5 separate regions of the Homo sapiens genome follow, and all the other regions are linked to region 1. Evidence: promoter capture Hi-C in human tissues and cell types (Jung and others, 2019). All regions are on one chromosome and are shown on one strand. The core of a region is centred on a gene start or on the middle of the fragment in contact, and the rest is flanking DNA. Distances in the headings are between cores, read along the strand shown. Region 1 holds the start of TLN2 (talin 2). Region 2 overlaps TLN2 (talin 2). Region 3 overlaps TLN2 (talin 2). Region 4 overlaps TLN2 (talin 2). Region 5 overlaps TLN2 (talin 2).

Evidence for each region. The method cuts DNA at HindIII sites, captures the fragments that hold promoters and counts their contacts. A contact is called where the count stands out against the background at its distance.
Region 2: a fragment that was not itself captured here is called in contact with the fragment with the promoter of TLN2 in region 1 in 3 of the 25 tissues and cell types used here (IMR-90 fibroblasts, aorta and heart left ventricle).
Region 3: a fragment that was not itself captured here is called in contact with the fragment with the promoter of TLN2 in region 1 in 1 of the 25 tissues and cell types used here (H1 embryonic stem cells).
Region 4: a contact is called between a fragment that was not itself captured here and the fragment with the promoter of TLN2 in region 1, in 1 of the 25 tissues and cell types used here (mesenchymal stem cells).
Region 5: a fragment that was not itself captured here is called in contact with the fragment with the promoter of TLN2 in region 1 in 4 of the 25 tissues and cell types used here (adrenal gland, aorta, heart right ventricle and 1 more).

What each region holds. Positions count from the first base shown.
Region 1 is chr15:62,389,192-62,391,976 of GRCh38, reverse strand. It overlaps TLN2 (talin 2), which reads right to left and starts at 1,427. Exons shown (of 59, transcript NM_015059.3): 1 at 1,292-1,427. RefSeq lists enhancers at 405-1,019, 1,938-2,007 and silencers at 1,198-1,527, 1,575-1,771. The HindIII fragment of the contact is 23,885 bases long and covers 1-2,785 here.
Region 2 is chr15:62,629,740-62,632,524 of GRCh38, reverse strand. All of the region lies in intron 3 of TLN2 (talin 2), which reads right to left. Among named protein-coding and RNA genes, the nearest start is that of MGC15885, 14 kb to the left of the region's middle. The HindIII fragment of the contact is 6,002 bases long and covers 1-2,785 here.
Region 3 is chr15:62,603,710-62,606,494 of GRCh38, reverse strand. The region is part of intron 2 of TLN2 (talin 2); the gene reads right to left. Among named protein-coding and RNA genes, the nearest start is that of MGC15885, 40 kb to the left of the region's middle. The HindIII fragment of the contact is 6,822 bases long and covers 1-2,785 here.
Region 4 is chr15:62,579,249-62,582,033 of GRCh38, reverse strand. The region is part of intron 1 of TLN2 (talin 2); the gene reads right to left. Among named protein-coding and RNA genes, the nearest start is that of MGC15885, 65 kb to the left of the region's middle. The HindIII fragment of the contact is 7,026 bases long and covers 1-2,785 here.
Region 5 is chr15:62,553,588-62,556,372 of GRCh38, reverse strand. All of the region lies in intron 1 of TLN2 (talin 2), which reads right to left. Among named protein-coding and RNA genes, the nearest start is that of MGC15885, 90 kb to the left of the region's middle. The HindIII fragment of the contact is 4,460 bases long and covers 1-2,785 here.

The DNA.
Region 1 (2,785 bases), core at 178-2,677:
TGCGCCCCTCGGAGCACCCAGGCGAGCCCGGGCACCGGGAGAACGCTCTACACTCGGCGCCCAGCCCCGGGACGCCGCCCAGCGCACGGCTCCGGCTGAGCACCCGGGCAGCGGTAGCTGCGGGGAAGAGGGGCGTGTTCCCTGAGCCTCGGAGCCCCAAGGCCGGGTCCAGGCGGGACAGAGGAAGGCGGCAAGCCCAGCACGCTGTCCGTGACGGCGGCTCTCGTTCCCAAGCCCCGCCGGCTGGCGTGGCGACGCGCTGTAGTCCGCGCGCCCTTGCGGGGACAGCAGTCGTGCGCGCCTTGTGCGGCCGCCTCCGCGCCTGCCTCGGCGCGCAAACTTTCCCGGCGACAACCGATCAGGCCTCTCCGACTGGGGCGCGGGGCTCTCCCCGGGACCCAGAAACTGCTCGCCCCCTCCCCTCCGCAGTCAAGACCCACTGAAAATATGGCGCCCTCGAAAGTCGTTCCTCGGTCCCCTCAGGGATCCCGAAATACTCGTCTCCAGGTCCCTCCAGCTTCCAATGGGCGCAAAATTTCAGCTCGTGGGACCGAGGAAGGAGAGGGAGCCGCTGAGTCTGTGTGAGGCCAGCCGCACTGGATGCAAAGCCTGGCCCCGCTCTCGGCCCGGCACTGCCCCCGTCGCTCAGCGGCCAGCAGTTCGCCCGTGGCGAGATTGCCAAGTAAAGGGCAGTCGTGGGATCGGCAGGTCTGAGTGTCCGGCACCGGAGAAGGAACTCCGCACTGGCGGGCTGTCTTAGCCCAGAGCCTCGGCGGGAGACTTGTTTGCAAAGTGGCGCTGGAGTCCCGGCGGCCAGTGCTGGAATGAAGCTGCTCCTCCAGCGCCAACTCTTCTGGCGCGGGGGCCCGGCTGGGGTCGAGGGGACACTCTATGCAGGCGGGGCCGCTTTTCAAAGCCCAGTTACCGGAAACCCAGCGAGAGCCCCGGAGGGGACCGGCTGCCCACGGCCAGGAATCCGCTCTCTGGCGCCGACTGCGAGGCTGTTTGCAAACCGCTGCGCCCGGGTCCGGTGCAGTGAAACATACATGTGCAATAGACAGGTGCATTAATTTCATTTTATTTTTATTTTCCTGCAAGAAGCCCTCCTAGACCATCAAATCTGGGAGCTTTACGGGTTTTTCCTGCATTGGCATCACTCACGAGAAGCAAAAGGGAGGAAAAAAAACCCCACATTTTCCTTCTGGAGAGGGGAGGGAAAAGACACGAGAAATTCATGCAACGTGCATGCAGCTGGAGGAAGAGGAAAACCCGAGTGAGCCGTGCGCCTTACCGGGGGATGCATTTACTGTCTCATTGCAGAGCGCCTGCCCGGGAGTGCAGCCCGCGTCCCCCCGCGCGCTGGGCGACCACTCCGCTCCCGCAGCCGCCTCAGCCGCTGCCGCCGCCGCTGGCTCCGGGCGCGGAACAAGAGCCGAGGGCGAGCGCGAGCGCACTGCCCGAGAGCGCTGGGAGGGCAGGAAGCGCGTCATCATTCGGGGACGGCGCGGCGCCGGTCCGGCCGCGGCGCCGCGCGGCACCGGGGTGGGCCGCCACCGAGGCTCAGGCGCCCGTCCTGGGTTTCCTCCCACGCGTGGTGATGCTGAAAGGGTCCGCGAGGGAAGGTGATGCACCGGCCGAGCTGTCACGGGGAAGGGAGGCTCGGGGTGACCCCGGCTTCCCAGAATTGGGGCTCTGCTGTGTAAAGGGGATGACTGCAGGACACAGCGTCTTGTAGGCTGGGGCCCCTAGGTCCGCAGAGTGCCCTCTCGGGACCTCTGGCCCGGTCCTGGGGGAAGCGAGCTGTGGCTAACTGGAGGGCCGTGGTGGGCGGTGGGGTCTTGCTGCGAAGCGGAGGGCCGTGACCCCAGGCGAGCCTGCTCCTTTCAGCACAAGGACCCTGAAACCTTGCTGGTCAGGTGTCACTTAGGTATTTAGAGAACGACTATAGGGATGAGTGGCGGTAGGGGCGTGCTGTGTTGATAAGAAGAAAATAATTCACTCCTGCTTGCCATGCCCTGAATAAAGTCAGTTATATACCTCTTACATTTACAGTCATTATTAGTAAATACTGTAAATACCATGGAACAATGTGAAGGTTATTCAAGGGGGTGAGGAGACAAAACACTATGTACCGTATGGTCCCGTTTTTAAAAACTGTGATTTATGGAGAAAGGCAGAAAAGACTGGATAGATAAACACCAATAAGTCTCTCAGTGATTGGTGGAATTGTGAGTAATTTTACTTTTTTATTTATCTGTAAGGGACACATTAGTAATTTAAAAAAACAAGAATTAGCCATGACCCCTTTACTCCTAGTACTTTGGGAGGCCAAAGCAGGAAGATCTCAAGCCCAAGGAGTTTAAGATCGGCCTGGGCAATATAGCGAGACCTTATCTCTACAAAAAAAATTAAAAATCAGCCGGGTGTGGGGGCGCATGCCTGTAGTCCCAGTTACTGGGGAGAATGGTGGGAGGATCGCTTGAGCCCGGGAGCTCGGGGGCTGCATGAGCGGTGATCCTACCACTGCACTCCAGCCTGGATGACAGAGCGGGACTCTGTCTCAAAAAAGAAAAAAAAAAGGAAAGACGACATTATTTCCATCCCAATACAGAATGGACCAGGAAATAGGTAGCAAATCTATTCAGTTACTCAAATGGAACTGCTGGCAACTTTTTAGTGTTTCTCAGAGAAAGAAACTGCTGTCACCATAAACCGGAGACTGAATTGATTTTGTAAATTGAAATTATTTTGAATAAGTCCGTTGGAACATTGGATAAGGCTGGAC
Region 2 (2,785 bases), core at 130-2,629, 240 kb before region 1:
AGAGGAGTCCTGCCTTGCCCTCCAAGAGCTTCCACAGGGCTCGGGGAGGACAGTAGCAAGCAGTACAGGGTGACAAGTCTGGAATAAGAGCCTAGGTCACTCTGATCACTAAAGTCCTTCCAACATCTAAGTGATTCGAGGATGAAGTCACACCTCTAAGGGTTCAGGTCGTTAGGAGTCCTTGAGGTTCCTGAAGGGCTCCAAGATTATTCTGGGGCCTTCTCGACCTTTCCAGACAAGACCTAAGCAGGTGAGATTTAGTCAGAACAGAAATGGCCTCCAGCACAAGCAAGAGCTGCTCAACTTTAATGCCACGCCCCACAGGGGCACTAGTCCCCAGAATGAGACTATGTACTCCGTTAACTACTTATTATCATTGACTGCCTCTAAGCAGGCGCTGGGGCTGTCTAGAAAGCTGTGACAATAAGTTTGTATGAAAGATTCGGGGGGAGCACACATAACTTCTAACTAGTGCCCACAGAGACTTTGGAGCCACTCTCTTACCGGTGGTCCAATGGCTGTACCTACTGTGATCCTTGTGGGCTCGCACATCACCACAGCTCCTGATGAAACTGAGGTTGACAGATTTTATCATCATCTATAGAGAGGAGACTATTAAAAAATACCTCACTATAAAACTATCAAGGCCGGGCATGGTGGCTCATGCCCATAATCCCAGCACTTTGGGAAGCCAAGGCACGAGGATGGTTTGAGCCCAGGAATTCAACAGCTTGGGAAACATAGGGAGACCCCGTCTATACCAAAAAACAAAAAGAAAAGAGAGAAAGAAGAAAAAGCGGGAGGAGGGAGGGAGGGAGGGAGAGAAAGAAAGAAAGACAGAAAGAGAGGAGGAAAGAGAAAGAAAGAAAAAGAAGGAAAGAAAGAGAAAGAAAGGGAGGGAGGAGGGAAGGGAGAGGGAGAGAGAGAGAGTGAAAGAAGAGAGAGAAAGAAAGGAAAGGAAAGGAAAGGAAAGGAATGGAAAGGAAAGGAAAGGAAAGGAAAGGAAGAAAGAAAGAAAGAAAAGAGGAAGAAAGAAAGAAAGAAAAGAGGAAGAGAGAGAGAAAGAAAGAGAAAGGAAGGAAGAAAGGAAGAAAGGAAGAAAACTATCAAACCTGAAAAAATAATGGATGAGTGATTATTTGTGCTAGAGAAGAGAAGGCATCTTGACTTAGGAATCCACTGAGCAAGCTTCCTCTATTACGGTTTGCATGTGTCTTCTCCAAAATTCATGTTGAAACTTAATCCCCAATACAACAGTATTAAGAGGTGGGGCCTTTAGGAAGTGATTTGGCTCTGACAAGGCTGAAGTCAAGACAAGGAGAGGAGGCAGAAAGGAGAGAGAGAGACTGCAACCTGGGAGGTATGAGAAGCTGCGGAACTCATAGGAAGCTGCAAGCCAACAGAGTCTATTTTGCTTTTGGGGATCCTTTGGTTATATATCCATATTCCCCTGATTGTTACTATCCTGGGTGAGAAAAGGCTAGCTAAGCATTTCAATGCCTTAGAAAAAAAAATGGCTTATTCAAATGAAAAAATCTTTTAAGTTTTCTTTTCTATTTATCTTTCGAAAGACATCTAGAAATTTACTGGGGGGAAGATGTCTTTTCATTCCCCCTTCACACTCCTCCCCCTCTCTTTAGTGATGAATCTCTTGGTGAACTCGTCTGAATGTCAAAAAGAAAAAGACATCTTCTCAGAAAAATATAAATATTTATAGACAGCATTACTCCATCACCCCTGAAATGTTAAACAGAGCTGTTTCTCCATTCTCTTCTTTATTGATTTAGTTATGTGGTACATAATCAGAAAGCCAAAAAAAAAAGGTAACGGTGGAACTCAAATCACCAGGTCATGCATCAAATAAACGCAGACCAAAAAACATTCATTAAATCTTGTTGTGATATACCTCCAGAGAGCAGTAACAGAAATAAAAAAAATCAATGTCAAAACAAACCTGGCCTCGGACTGCTGGAGAATGGCTGCTCACAGACCTTCCTCTGTGATGAGATCCCGACGTCTGTGGCACTTCTCCTCCTCTGAGTTATGTGCTCTCTTAGGGCTAAGTCCCACCAGTATGACCGCAGGGCCAGTGGGAACAGAGTGGGATGTATTTAAAAGCAAAAATATCAGGGAGTCAAGTCCTCATTCAGCACCAAAAATGTCTGAGTGGCCCTCCTCAACTTTCTCACCGGGTTTTAGCCTAGACAACTTTTAAGGAAGGTAAGTACCTTAGAAGTCATCTAGTCTAAAACCCAAGTCTGTTTTCTGGATCTCTCTTCTGATACCTAAAATCTGGCTTTACCTAAATGACCTGTCCTCTTTCCAAGTGATAGTCAACCTACTAATAAGCAAAAATGATGATTAGTTGGTGCCATATTTCCAGTTTTTCCAATAGTTACAGAAAGGCTACCTGTGACAGTAGATGTGATTTTACAGTGTTACTAATGATCATTCTGGCAGCTCGTTATATACACGACACAACTGAAAATAACCCCACCAAAGAAACAAAAAAAGATAATTTCCTGACTTTAAAGACATAGAAGAGATTCTCTAGATTAAGAACAATGGGAAAAGGATGTTAAAATGATCTATGGTGCCCTCAATTACCTTTAAAATGCTCATGTATTTTCTAAGGGATTTTCACAAAGCTTCAATGTATTAGGACTCTCAATTTTAACTGCTGCCTGGGGCTTTACCCTACTTATTTTAAAATAATTTAATATTTGCCTTTTGTTGGGTCCCAAAAACAAAATGTACTCAAAAACATACACTTTGAAAGATGAGC
Region 3 (2,785 bases), core at 138-2,637, 210 kb before region 1:
CTAGCTGGATTCTATCATCGCTAAACTTTTTTACTGTTAAACCACAGGCATTCCTTTCCTGGTATTATTTACAATAATTTCAACCTAAAAAAAATATCTTTTGGGGCCAGGCGTGGTGGTTCACGCCTGTAATCCCAGCGCTTTGGGAGGCTGAGGTGGGTGGATCGCCTGAGGTCAGGAATTCGAGACCAGCCTGACCAACAGGGGAAACCCTGTCTCTACTAAAAATACAAAAAAAAAAAAAAATTAGCCAAGCATGGTGGTGGGTGCCTATAGTCCCAGCTGCATGGGAGGCTGAGGCAGGAAAATTGCTTGAACCTGGGAGGCGGAGGTTGCAGTGAGCTGAGATTACACCACTGCACTCCAGCCTGGGCGACAGAGTGAGACTCCGTCTCAAAAAACAAAAAAAAAATCTTTTTGAAATGGTAAACACTGTCTTCTTATTAAGTTCTATCAGTCATCACTAGCACTATCGACTAACACTACTTAACTAGTGACACTGGTGTAACACTACTACCTCTAGACAAGTCTATCAAAATGTATCACATGAAATGTATCTAAAGAAGGGAAATTCTGACAGACTGCCCTTCTGCCCCTGATTGTGGTACCAGGCACATCTGAAGAGACATTTCGTGAAGATGGGAAGGGTAGTTCGCTTGCAGCTTGGGGAGGCTGCAGGTCTAAACATCATATATTGATTGCCCAGATCTCTTTGCTGCTACGGTGTCCAACGTGACTTAGATACACCAATGACATGGGCTTATAGGTGACTCTGGTGTTCAACCGAGTCACAAGGAAGAAAAGCAGAGCACACGGTTATCCACAAGAAGCAAGATCTCCCCATGGAGGAGGCGTGTGTTCTGAGCTGGCAGGTCAAGTACCGGATTCTCAATTCAACAGCCTCTCATAGCAGCAGCCACAGCCTAACTTCCCTGGTTCTGGTAGGAAAAGATGGTGCTGGGGATAGGGAGTAGACTGGAAGCTCAGCCCAGAGCCTGTTCCTCCCAAACTGCCAAGGATTCCTGATTCGCTTGCCCATGGATTAAATCGACTCCAGCTTTAATTCCCTAGAGTAGATTCTGTGTCCAATACAGGAAATGTGAATAACAACAAGAAGCTCATCGCTTTTACTAGTTTATTAAATTTGTAAAATGTTACGTATAAAATACTCAGACACAAAGGATAAGGAAACAAACTCAATTTATTTTAATTATATTTTAGTATAATAGCATTTAGGCTAGGATATTTCATATAAACTATAGTATTGCCCAATTTTATAAACTTAAACCTACACTGTAATTCACCTCATTCATAAACATGAGAAAATTTGACCTACTTTCTAATATATTCAGCTCCTTGTCTGCATTAATCTGCAGTGACATTTTAAAAGTTCCTCTAATAATTTCCATTATATGAAAATGCACTTTTCATTTACATCACCTTTGATTTTCTTCCCACAAACAAAATACTGTTTTTTCAACAGTTAGCCTGCAAATGTAGTAAGAAACAAGACATACAAGACAGCTGATACAAAAAGTTCACCTATGATGGGGCTCAGTCTTGGGTTTCTTAATGGGGGAAAGGAGGAGGAGGAGGAGGAGGCGGCGGCAGCGGCAAATAATGAGAAAATTTTGCCCTAGGTCCACACGCTACAGGATGGTAGGCTTGCGTCTGTGTATAATCTATGGAAAATCAGAGAACACAGCTTTGAGAGATTAATATAAATCCCTTATCGCATAATATGAGCTCCATGCTTCCTAATAGTTCCATAATCTCAAATAATTAAAAAAAAAAAAAAAAGAAGACGAAGAGAAGAAATCCACTTTCCACTCCCACGGCCTCCTTCCAACTACACACTGCAACCACCAACACCCTCCTGAACCTGGGCTCCCTCTCTCTTATGAAGCTCTCTTTAATATACTGTTGACAATCGCCCCCCACCCTTTTCTTTTTTTTTTTTTTTTTTTTTTAAGACAAGGTCTCACTTTGTCACCCAGGCTGGAGTGCAGTGACTCAATCATGGCTCACTGCACCATCAAATCTTCTACCTCAGTCTCCCAAGTGGCTGGGACGGGAGGTGCATGTCACTACCCACTACCCCCAGCTAATTTGTGTGTGGTATTTTTTGTTTGTTTTTGTTTTTAAGAAATGGGGTTTCACTTTGTTGCCTAGGATGGTCTCGAACTCCTAGGCTCAAGTAATCCTCCCACCTCAGCTTCCCACAGTGCTGAATTACAGTTGAGAGCCACCATGCCCCGCCTTGACAACCCTTTTGAGCAGCTCCCTCATATGTGCAAGAATTTTCTATGGCTCCCGAATGCCTAGAGCACAGGTTGACAAACTATGGCTCAAAAGCTAAGAATGGTTTTTATAATTTTAAAGGGTTAAGGAAAAAAACCAAATGAATTATATTTCATGATACATAGAAATTATATGACATTCAGATTTCAGTGTCCATAAATCAAGTTTCATTGGAACACAGCCACACCCATTTATGACTTGTCTATGCCTGCTTTCTGTGTGCCAACAGCAGAGTTGAATAGCTGCAACATAGGCAGTAGCCTCAAATATTTGTAGTTGAGTCCTTTGCCAGAAAAGATTGCTAACTTCTGGCCTACATTGCAAAATCCATAGCCTTTGGCCTAGCAATACAGGTCATCAAAATATCTAACAGACCTTCCTATAAACCTTATTTACTGCTACTTGAAGACATAACACAGATTCCACCGAAATGTCCTTCTCTATTTCTCCCAAACGTGACTCCCTTTTCCTTTCTTGCTCCAAA
Region 4 (2,785 bases), core at 204-2,703, 190 kb before region 1:
TCACTCTTCTTGCCCAGGCTGGAGTGCAGCGGCACAATCTTGGCTCACTGCAAACTCCACCTCCCAGGTTCAAACGATTCTCCTGCCTCAGCCTCCTGGGTAGCTGGGACTACAGACTCATACCACTACGCCCGGCTAATTTTTGTATTTTTAGTAGAGACAGGGTTTTGCCATGTTGACCAGGCTGGTCTGGAACTCCTAATCTCAGGTGATCTGCCTGCCTCGGCCTCCCAAAGTGCTGGGATTACAGGTGTGAGCCACCGCACCCGGCCCACTATTCACTCTTTTGCTACAAACCTGGGGTCTGTGAATAAACTTCTCGACTCTTTGGTCTGTTGTCAACTAGGGAAATACACTATTTTACATTTATGCCTTCCTTCCCACCTCCAAAGCAAACAAAGGCTTTCACGGTATAACAATTGGAGAATGAAACAAAAAGATTCCCCTCTGTACACTATTCCCTCATCCCTGAACCCTAAGAGCACAAACGTGCTCTTATTCTCTTTCATTCCAACTTGGACCCTTTAAAAGAGCACAAAGCCACAAAGAATACCAACAGTAGAACCTGATGAACACCATAGGTAAGTGTTATTCATCAACTACTTGAGTTTTTCTTTTGGGAAAACAGAATGAGAGGTTCCAGTAAAAAGAGCAAGAAGGTACATGTACACAATAGAATACTATTCAGTGCTAAAAAGAAAAGCGCTATCAAGTCATGAAAAGACATGGAGGAAATTAAATCCACATTACTAACAGAAGAAGCCAATCTGAAAAGGCTACATACTATACAATTCCAACTCGATGACATTCTGGAAGAGGCAACACTAGGGAGACAGTAAAAAGATCACTGGTTGGGCCGGGCGCGGTGTCTCACACCTGTAATCATGGCACTTTAGGAGGCCAAGGCAGGCGGATCACTTGAGGTGTTAGGAGACCATCCGGGCCAACATGGTGAAACCCCATCTCTACTAAATATACAAAAATTAGCCGGGCATGGTGGTGGGCGCCTGTAATCCCAGCTACCTGGGAAGCTGAGGCAGGAGAATCACTTGGACCTGGGAGGCGGAAGTTGCTGAGAGCCGAGATCCTGTCATTGCACTCCAGCCTAGGCAACAAGACCGAAACTCTGTCTCAAAAAGAAAAAAAAAAAAAAAAAATCAGTGGTTGCCAGGGGTCAGGGGGCGGGGCGAAGGCAGGAAAAAATAAGCAGCACTGAGGATTTTTTGGGCAGTGAAACTACTTTGCATGATACTATAAAGGTGGATGTGTATCATTCTACATTTTTCCAAATCAAAAGAACGTGCAACACCAAGAATAAACCCTAGCCAGGTGCAGTGGTGCATGCCTATAATCCCAGCACTTTGGGAGGCGAAGATAGGTAGATCACTTGAACTCAGGAGTTAGAGACTAGCCTGGGCAACATGGCAAAACCCCATCTCTACAAAAAATACAAAAATTAGCTGGGTGTGGTGGTATGCGCCTATAGTACCGGCTACTCGCGAGGCTGAGGTAGGAGGATTGCCTGAGCCTGGGAGGTCAAGGCTGCACTGTGCCTAGATCTCGCCACTGTACTCCAGCCTGAGCAACAGAGCAAGACAATGGGAAGGAAGGGAGGGAGGGAGGGAGGGAGGTAGAGAGGGGAGAAGAGAGAAACTCTAAGGTAAACTATGGTCTTTAGGTGGTAATGATTTGTCAATATAGGTTCATCAACTATAACAAATGTACCACCCTAGCATGGGATGTTGGTAATGGGGAAGCTATGGGTACAGTAGATATAAAGGAACTCTCTGTACTTCCCACTCAATTTTGTTGTAAACCCAAAACTGCTCCGAAGAAATAAAACCTGTTAAAAATAAACAAAATATTTTTTAAAATACAGAGAGAAAGAGGTGTGGTGCTGCAGATGCCACCCAGGCACTGAAGCCAAGGAACTCCCTGTGGGAGATCTCCCCACTGCAGGCCAGGGCCTGGGAGAGGTGTAGAGTGACACATGTTGGCTTGGCCTGGGGAAGCAGCGATGGAGGATCTGGGATCCTCCTGGCCAGGTAGAGATCCTTTGACTGTATCAGAGCACTCGGGTTGAACAGGTGCTGCACACACAAGGCTCCACGCTGCTAGAACTGACCCTGGGAAGGTGCATGCTCCTCCATTTTTATTCTCACTGCCACCCTGACCATTAGCTCGAGGACTATTCCTACATGCTCGTAACCTCAGCAACTGCTTCTACAGTGACACAATCCAGCTGAAGGACATGCAGAGAGAGAATGTGACTTCCTCAAGTGGTGAATCTCACCTGAGTTTCCTTGCCAGTGGAAACTCTGTCATCTGTAATGAAGTATCTCGGGTCTGTAGCTAGGAGAAGGAGGGGCATCCTCTTCAGGGGACACGTTCCTATGAATACTCACACTGGCTCCATCCTCCAGCCTGCAAAGCCTGGCTGCCTGATGCCGTGAGCCAACACACCACAGCATAAATGCAACAGGAAGAAACAATCAAAGTGTACTGTGAGTCTTCTCAGCCCCCAGCAACCTAAGATAAGTATCACAAACAAGAACACGAGGTCATTTGAGAGGATTCTGCTAATCAAGACCGAATTAGATACTCAGGTATACATAATGCGGAAATCAGGAATACTCACTTTCCATAAATAAGAACCTGTCACCACTTGGCCCTGATTAGCAGTTATTGTAACCCTCAAAATTCATCTTTCCCAAGTGATTTTTCTATGCTGCTCTCTCTTACCATGTGAAGGCTGGTTTTCATAAAATTGCCACCTGATGTATTT
Region 5 (2,785 bases), core at 163-2,662, 160 kb before region 1:
ATCGTGCCACTGCACTCCAGCCTGGATGACAAAGTGAGACCCTGTAAAAGAAAAGAAAAAAAGAGAAGAGAAGAGAAAAAAAAGAAAATGGCATTTAAAAAAATTCTACTCATAATAGCAAATAGGAATAGAAAGAAGGGTAGGAGGGGAAAGGAAAAAAAAAACTCCTAAGAAATAAACCTACCCATATATATGCCAAACCAATCTTATTTTAAATTTTACTACATGACATTAAAAAAAACCAAAAAGATACAATAATGGAGAGAACTACCATTTCCCAGATGAGAAGACTCAATATTGTAAGACAACAATTCTTCCTCAGTTTGTAAAGTCAACTAAGTCAACGTTAAGTCAACGAGCATCTCAACTCAGAAAACTAATCTTAAAGTCCAACTGGAAGAGAAAAACCTTTAGGATGACCAAAAAAAAAAAAAAAAAGTTTAAAAAATAAGAATAATGAAAGGAAATATCCTCATAAAATCAAATATAGTACAAAGCTACAGTAACAAAAACAGAGTGACAGCATTATGAAAATAGACATATTCTATTATCACTAGAACAGGAGAGTATAGAAAGCAAATACATTGATATTTAGGATACAATAAAGATATTTAAAACTGGCACAAAAAGAGCAAACTGTTTGACACATTATACCGGGAAAAGTAAAAATCCACATACAAATTAAGTTGCAGCTCTACTGCTATCATACACAAGAACAAATCCTAGGTAGACTAGACAGATAAATATTTTTAAAACTACCAGAAAAAGAGACAAAGAATATCAAGTATATTTACAAAACTCAGAAGACATAAAGAAAAGTTCACAGGTGTGGCAAACGCCACAGTTAAAACCTATATTTCATAAACAAAGTTCAAAGACAGCAAGAAAGTGACATTATTTACAAAGGATCTTCTGAGGAGGGACACAATCTAATCTATTACTTTTACTCTGAAGCTTTCTACAATGTTTAAATCTTTCAGAGCAAGCAAGAATTCATTCATGCTATAAATAAAAATCTTCAGACAAAAAAAGGTTAATATAAAGGAACACTTCAACTGAGTCTTTTCATAAATATTCACAAATGAAAAATTAGTAACGTAAAAAAAAGTTTGCTTGCTATTTTTTAGGAATAAAATTAAGAAAGGAACATGGACAACTATCTGAAATATTTTTCCTTGAAACATTCTACTAAGGGCCTCTCCCATAGATGTTCTGCAGGAAAAGCTTCGCACTTCAAAGGGTGTGCCTGTAGGATTTAGATGACTATCTGAATACCTGCACTAGTAAACAAACAAAAATCACCCCAAGAGTAAACTAAGAATATCACAGGGAAGAAATCTCCTAATTCCTAACCAGTGAGAAGGGTGTTTTTTTTTTTCTTTCTAAATAGAATTTATAAACTTCAAAAATTCTGTGAATTTTTCACAGCAAAGCAAGTGTACACGAATTTTCTAAATCTACATCTCTGCCAGACCCTTAAGTTTTCTCCACACCTGCAAGGAGAACTCCTGGCATCTTGCTAGAGTGCTGAATTTGGGACAGAGGTGCAAAGTTATCACGTAAGTGGTACTCTCTCACTGGAAAATAGAATCCTATGGCTCTTAACAATGCTCGAGGCCTGTCTCCTTGTTAGGTGAAACTGAGGCCTGGGTACTGGGTGGCTTATCCCCTTAACTCAGTCAGTAGCATTATCCAGCTTTTTCCGTTTGTTCCAGAAAATAGTTCTTACTGGCCTTGGTAAAAGTGTATTTTTTATTTTTTTCTAAGCAGTAAACAGGTAATCCTAAACCTTTACAATTTCTCTGTCCCATCATCCTAGAAAGGATTTATCTGACTTATTTCAAAGTTCTACAATTCTCCTGAGTTTTTCTGTCAGTCAAAACTGTGAACATTTTAGTATCTCTTTCCCAGTAGCGTTTTCATTGTCTAAGTCATCTTAAGTTAAAACTACAGCTTTCTGGTATAAATAGGGCTTAAAACTCAACCAAAATTCTATATCTGGTATCAACAGCTGGTACAAGGTCTCACTTCCTCATACTAGATCAAGGAAATCTTTATCTACGGAAATTCTATTCATACTATTAAATAGTCCCTATATTCCCTGAAATACATGAATGAGCATCAACCAAGCTTTAATATCCTCTTTTCTCCTGCCACAGTGAGGGGGGCAGGGGTTAGAGAATCACTTTAACACTAAAGTGTTTTCCTCACATTGTACTCATTCCAGAAACAACTGTTGTAATAATTTAGATTAAGCATCTTGGTTGATCCTAGATAATGTTTACCCAACTGCATCTAGTCATTAACTACTTATCTACCTGAAAATTGAGTCCTTGAAATCCTCTGTCAAGTCTAGTGAAAGAAAATAATAAAACTGCAAGACTGAATCTGTGTTATGTTCTGTAGCTCTAGCTACTGGCAAAAAAAAAAAAAAAGATTAGATTAAAAGATATGCATCCCAAGCTAATTGCACAGCATAAAAAGTAAACCACAGCTATTAAACAGAAGCATCACTATATAATTTCTCTTGACAACTTAAGCATTTTAATAAGTATTTTATAAATAATAAGGAAGCATTTTTCCACCTAAATTATATGCAATAACAAAGCATAATGCTAAGGGCACATAATAGGCAAAAATTCAGTCCCTTCTATATTAAATTAGGGGTATTTAATATAGATGCATTTATTTAAAAAATTCATTTATTTTTATGTGCATTTTCTGAAAAGGCCTGAAAATTACATGTACCAAATTCTTAACACTCATGAGGAAAAGGTGGGAAAAA